Regions from separate parts of the Homo sapiens genome. Here region 2 is linked to region 1. Evidence: promoter capture Hi-C in 16 types of primary human blood cells and fetal thymus (Javierre and others, 2016). All regions are on one chromosome and are shown on one strand. The core of a region is centred on a gene start or on the middle of the fragment in contact, and the rest is flanking DNA. Distances in the headings are between cores, read along the strand shown. Region 1 holds the start of ELF2 (E74 like ETS transcription factor 2). Region 2 overlaps SETD7 (SET domain containing 7, histone lysine methyltransferase).

The links. The method cuts DNA at HindIII sites, captures the fragments that hold promoters and counts their contacts. A CHiCAGO score of 5 or more calls a contact.
Region 2: a fragment that was not itself captured here is called in contact with the fragment with the promoter of ELF2 in region 1 in 8 of 17 cell types (fetal thymus, erythroblasts, activated CD4 T cells and 5 more); the score reaches 8.4 in fetal thymus.

What each region holds. Positions count from the first base shown.
Region 1 is chr4:139,175,851-139,178,653 of GRCh38, forward strand. It overlaps ELF2 (E74 like ETS transcription factor 2), which reads right to left and starts at 1,368. Exons shown (of 10, transcript NM_001331036.3): 1 at 1,117-1,368. It overlaps LOC105379412 (a long non-coding RNA gene), which reads left to right and starts at 305. Exons shown (of 4, transcript XR_007058273.1): 1 at 305-498. RefSeq lists an enhancer at 339-388, silencers at 989-1,948, 1,959-2,338 and a cis regulatory region at 2,705-2,803. The HindIII fragment of the contact is 9,266 bases long and covers 1-2,803 here.
Region 2 is chr4:139,527,074-139,529,876 of GRCh38, forward strand. It overlaps SETD7 (SET domain containing 7, histone lysine methyltransferase), which reads right to left. Exons shown (of 8, transcript NM_030648.4): 4 at 1,958-2,147. Among named protein-coding and RNA genes, the nearest start is that of SETD7, 28 kb to the right of the region's middle. RefSeq lists an enhancer at 1,430-1,489. The HindIII fragment of the contact is 1,015 bases long and covers 871-1,885 here.

The DNA of each region.
Region 1 (2,803 bases), core at 118-2,617:
TAAAGGCTATTCTGCAGCGAATCTGCCTCCTAGAAAGAGTCCATCCAGGATGCTGGCAGAGGGAAAAAGATTAGAAACTGTGCGATCTGGATTATTCTTGGTGTCACGGAATATTTTTTGAGTCCTTTATGGACATGGAATAAAAATGCCCAAATGGAGCAGAAGAGAGGGCTCGGCTACCCTGATCACAAAGCTCCTGGGGTAGAGTCAGCATCCAGCCCTGGCAGAGCCCTCCCTGTCCTCCTTCCGCGCCCCTAGACCATCCCGTCGCGCGGTCCCTGAGGACCAGCTTCGCGAGGATCCAGAAGGCGGTCACTGGACGTGCCTGTTACGAGCCCGTTTTTGTTTTGCTTAAGAAACAGATTCCGATCCGAGCAAAGCCTCCCTACCTCCCGGGGAATAGGGGGAGATGGCAGCACGGTGCCGGCGTGGAGAGCGAGAATAAAAGAACTGCCGAGTACAACCTGTCGTGCAAGCTAGCAGCGCCGGGAAGGAAAGGTAAGCGGCGGCGATAAGGCACGACAGGGAAGGAAACTGGTGTCCAGCGCCCCCCCCCGCCTGCCCGCCACCCAGAGCGGCCGGAGCCTCCCAGGTCCCGCCCCGAGCTCGCCGCCCAGCCCCGGCGCCGGCCGCAGACTCCCGCCCTACACAAACCCTCCCAGGACGCGCTTCCTCCGGAGCCGGACCCCCGCCCTGGCCTCCCCGCGGGATGAGGCGGGTCAGTTCAGTCCGCTTCTCGGCAGAGGTGACTCGCGCAGAGATGTAAACACGGAGAGACCAGCTGCGCTCGGCCCATCCCCCCCGCCGGGGTCTGTAACCTCTTCCCTCAGCCCTGCCCCGCGCCCCGCGCTCCCCGCGGGCAGGCGCGCAGCGCGCCTTCCCCTTTCTCCAAGTCCCGCTCCGCGACCGTTGCCTGGGGACACTCAGCCCCCTTCCCCCAGCCCCCGGCCGGTGTCACCGCCGCAGCCGCCGGAAAACCCCTCCGCAAACCCCGAAGCAAACAACACAAGCGCGGGGCGGGGGCGCGGAGGGAGGCGGCGGCAGTCGGGACAGCCAGGCTTTATCGCCGCGCCCTTCGCGCTCCCTCTCACCAGCCTCGGCTGCCCGCGCTCTTACCTGCTCTCCGCGACGCCTGGGAAGACCGCGGCGTCCTTTTCCCTCTCAGCAGGGCCGCGGACTAGCCGCCGCCGTTGGCCGAGCGTCCGGAGGGAGCCGGGGCCTCCCCAGCAGCCCGAGCCGCTCCACAGGGAGAGAAGGAGACAAAACAGAGGCTCGCCGCCCCGCGCAGCGACCCCCGCCCGCGCCGCCCCACCGACCCCCAACCGCCTAGGCGACGGCGGCGACACAGAGCTTGGCGCTGGGAGCAATGGTTGCCCCCGCCCCGCTCCGCTCCCGGCCCCCTCCCTCCACCCCCCGCCTCGGCTCCTCCCCCTCGGCCTCCTGCCGCCTCCACCAGGACACTGGAGTCCGCCTCCCCCTCCCCGCCAGCTCAGAGTGCTCCTCCCCTCCCCACGCGGCGGGGGGGCGGGGGCGGCACCGCCAGTCACCGCAGCGCCTGTCAAACGCGGGCCGGCTATTTATACCCCGCGGGGCCCCGCCGCCCTCGGGCCCCCACCAGCCCGCCGAACCTGCTTCTTTTGCTGTCTTGAATCCCGCCCTCTTCTCCTCGCCCAACTTCTCCCAAACCCGCCTTCCCAGGTAAAGACGCTCGTCACTTGTCCGGCTCCTTGCCCAGGGCTCCCCGATCTCGCTCTCCACTCCAGCCCCGGATTGGTGCAGGGGGCTCTGCCGCACGGGGCAGGCGTGTGAGGCCGATGGGGCCGCGCGTGCACCTGCAGCGCCCGCCGGCTTTCCCCCGCCGGCCGGGACCGCACGCACACACCCTCGCCACTCAGGGCCCCCGCAGGCCCCGCCGTCACCGCATCCCCAACTCAGGACTCTCGCCCTTCTCCGGAGACGGCCCCACAGTCGGGCAGTCTGACAGTTACAGGGGGGCGAGGTTTTGCAAAAACTCCTAGCCCGGTCTTTCCAGTTCCCACTCCTCAGCCTTGGCTTAGTGAAAGGTGGGGGTTCGGGCAGGAGCGCGACGCCGGCCCCGCCCCGGCCGGTGACGCACGTGGCGCACCGCCCCGCCAGCCTCGCGCCCCTCGGCGCCGCCAGCTCCTCCTCCCCGCTAGCAAAAGCCGGGCGTAGTACACCCGCGACCCCGCCCCATTCCCAGAAATTACCACCCGCCCAACAGCCCGGCCGCGCGGCGGTTGGTGCCGGCGTTTGCTGGCTGTCGGGTGGCTGGGCCCAGCGCGCAGCTGCGGAGCGCGGCGGGCGGCCCCTTGGAGCTGCCCGGGGAGCTGCGGGCACTCGCACCTAGCCATTGTCGCTCCTTGCGCGGTCCGCAACGGAGAAGTAACTCAAGTCTGAGTGTTGTTGGTGCGAGAATGAGAGAGTGTTCTGGTGTGGGAGTATTTTGGCCCAAGTGCCTGCGAATTCGAAAACGAAAACCCAGCAGTGGCTGCACGCTTCTGGTTTCCACACTTTCACACAAAGGGGAGCCTTCGAGCGGGGCACTCTCACGCGCCTTCAAGTGCACAAAAGCCAATGACACGGTGCCGTGGGTTGCCCTGTGTAGGAGCGTCTCTTTAATGGGCTTTGTAGGCACAGTTAATGCATACAAACGCCTCAGTCTATTTCTTCACCACCACCATTCCCCGCCGCGGCGTTTTCTGTATTTGTTTCTTTAACAAAGAGCACAGCCTGTCCGGTGCGCGCGGGGCTCCTTTTGCTCCCCTCCAGGGCTCCTGCAGCC
Region 2 (2,803 bases), core at 128-2,627, 350 kb after region 1:
CACACAAACCTAGATGGTATAGCCAACTACACACCTAGGCTATTAATAAATGGTACAGCCTATTGCCCCTAGGCTCCAAACCTGTACAGCTTGTTACTATAGGGAATACCATAGACAACAGTAACCTAATGGGAAGGATTTGTGTATCTAAACATATCTATACACAGAAAAGATGCAGTAAAAATATGATATAATCTTAGCTGGGTGCAGTAGTTTATGTCTGTAATCCCAGCACTATGAGAGTCCGAGGCAGGAAGATTGCTTGAGGCCAGGAGTTTGAGACCAGCCTGAGCAATACAGCAAGACCCTGTTTCTACAAAAAAATTTAAAAATATTTAGCTGGGCATTGTGGTGCATGCCTGTAGTCTTAGCTACTGGGGAGGCTGAGGCAGGAGGATTGCTTGAGCTCAGGAGCTCAAGGCTGCAGTGGGCTATGATAACACCAGTCCACTCCAGTCTGGGCAACAGAGTGAAATCCTGTCCCTTAAAAAATAAAATGAAATAAAAACAAAAATATGGCATAATCTTATGGTACCACAGTTGTTATGGGCCCATGACTGTATACAGAAAAGTCGCAAAGAAAGCACAGAGCATCCTCACTGTTTCTCCTAATGTTAACTTCTTACAGTGCATGGTACATTTGTCAAAATTAAGAAACCAACACAGATACATTACTATGTACAAAACTCTAGACTTTATTTAGATTTCACCAGTTTTTCCACTAATGTCCTTTTTCTCTTCCAGGATCCAATCCAGAATCCCACATTGCATTTAGACTGTCTCCATTTTTAACTTAAAAAAACAAAAAAGACATTTAAAGCAACCCAAATTGGACCTAAATATAAATGCTAAAATTTCCACTTTTGGACAAGCTTCCTTTGGAGATTCTTCTTCAGATCCCAAATAACTAAATACTATTTAAGCCTATTAATGCCCAGATTTATTGTCTTTTCTGTTTTTTTCTCCCTATAACCAAACCTGGCTCAGAAATACATGCATATATTGTTTTCAGGGAATCAGACCAATTCAAATAGCTTTCTTAAGCTGTGCCACTCAAAATGCAAAATCTTGATTTTTCTTTGTATATTTTCCAGATTTTCTACACTTAGTAATTTTATACTCAGAAAAAATGTTTAGTGTGACATGTGTACTTCTAAAAGGAAAATAATACTTTTTTCAAATATGGATTCCATTGGGTTCACTCATACATTGTGCTCCACGCAAGATGTTGGGCTCGAGATGCCAATATGCATTTATATTTTCCAGTCACAGCTCAGGCTCAATCAACTTTACAGTTTAGAGATCTACTTGATTTGGTTCTTTATTATCATAGTACAGTTTTTTGGAGAGATAACCATTTGAAATCAGTTGAATTACTGCTGTCATTTCTTTATTCCCTCCCTATATGAGAATTATATACCTAGGCCCTTTGTCACATGACTTTTCAGTATCTCCCACTAATGTGTATGGTGTAATTTCCCTGTCTCACTGATGTCTGGCTTGGCCATGTGACTTGCTTTGACCAGTGAAAAGTGAGTAAAGTGCCACCATGTCAGTTCCAAGGTGAGGTTTCAAAAGGCATCACAGGTATCTGCTTATGCTCTGACACTTCTGTGATCCACTGTGGGAAAATGTTGCCCCACATTGCCATTGTCCCTTCAGATTAGGCCCCAGAATTAAGACAAAGAGAGCTGACTCAAACCTGACCAGAAGCCTCAAGTCTGGCCTGGCCCCCTAAGCCCAGCCTCAGCCAGCTGGAGTACAGCTGCTCGGCAGAGCTGTGGTTGCTGTTGTAAACCACTGGGGAGGTGCAGTGTCTGTTATGCAATAAAACCTGACTAATAAACACGATTAAAGAGAACTATACAGAGAGGAAAAGAAAAGAAGCTTGTCTCAAATCAGCCCTAACAACCTGCTTTGGAATTGGAGCAACCCATCTGAAGCAGATTCAACTTACTTCCAGGCATCAGTTCAAAGTGAGGCCTCCCTTCTTCAGTGGACATAAGGGTAGCCAGTTTGCCTTCTATCATCTCTCCATCAATAAATTTCCCATAAAGTGCGGTCCTCTCATCAGGGTACACATAGGCTATCTTCTCTCCAGTCATCTCCCCATCTTCATTTACTTCTCCTACAAGGCTTCCTCCATCCTGATGGGAGAAACCAAAAACCAGAAAATATTATATATAGTATGTCTAGGACATGAGTCCCAAGAAATTTCTCTTCTGCAGTCCCATTATTAATATAGCACCAGTAGGGATAATAACAGTTTAGGAACCCAGAGCTTTTCACCTGGGTAAGAAAAACATGATGCATAGCTCCTCATCCAGCTCCATACAAATATACTGCTAGAAAGTCATACGCATTTGGGGCATGTATGCCTGATTTAGAGAGTGGGAAATTCCGTTGCAGTTTGTAATCCGGGACAAGTTACTGATACTCTATGTTGGTTTACTAAGAAATAAATGATGTTTCTTTGATATTTGTAACATCAATTACCAATATTTAAAGGAAATGTAACTAAGTGTTATTTTTGGCCAAAATCAAATATGATGACGATCTTTAGCAAGACACTCCTACCCACTATTCATAAGATCTCCCTTCTCAATATTAAATTTTGGATTTCTAGTGTGTTAGGAAAATATTCAGTTCAAATGTACTTAAGAATTAATTTAGTGTACACAAGTAAAGAGAGTTATCTGCACTTTTTCAGAGGCAAACAAAAGGATGTCTGGACACTGCCTTTCTGAGACTCCTATACCATCACCTTTTTTAGAATTAGAAGGAAAAGTGAAAAAAGATCAAC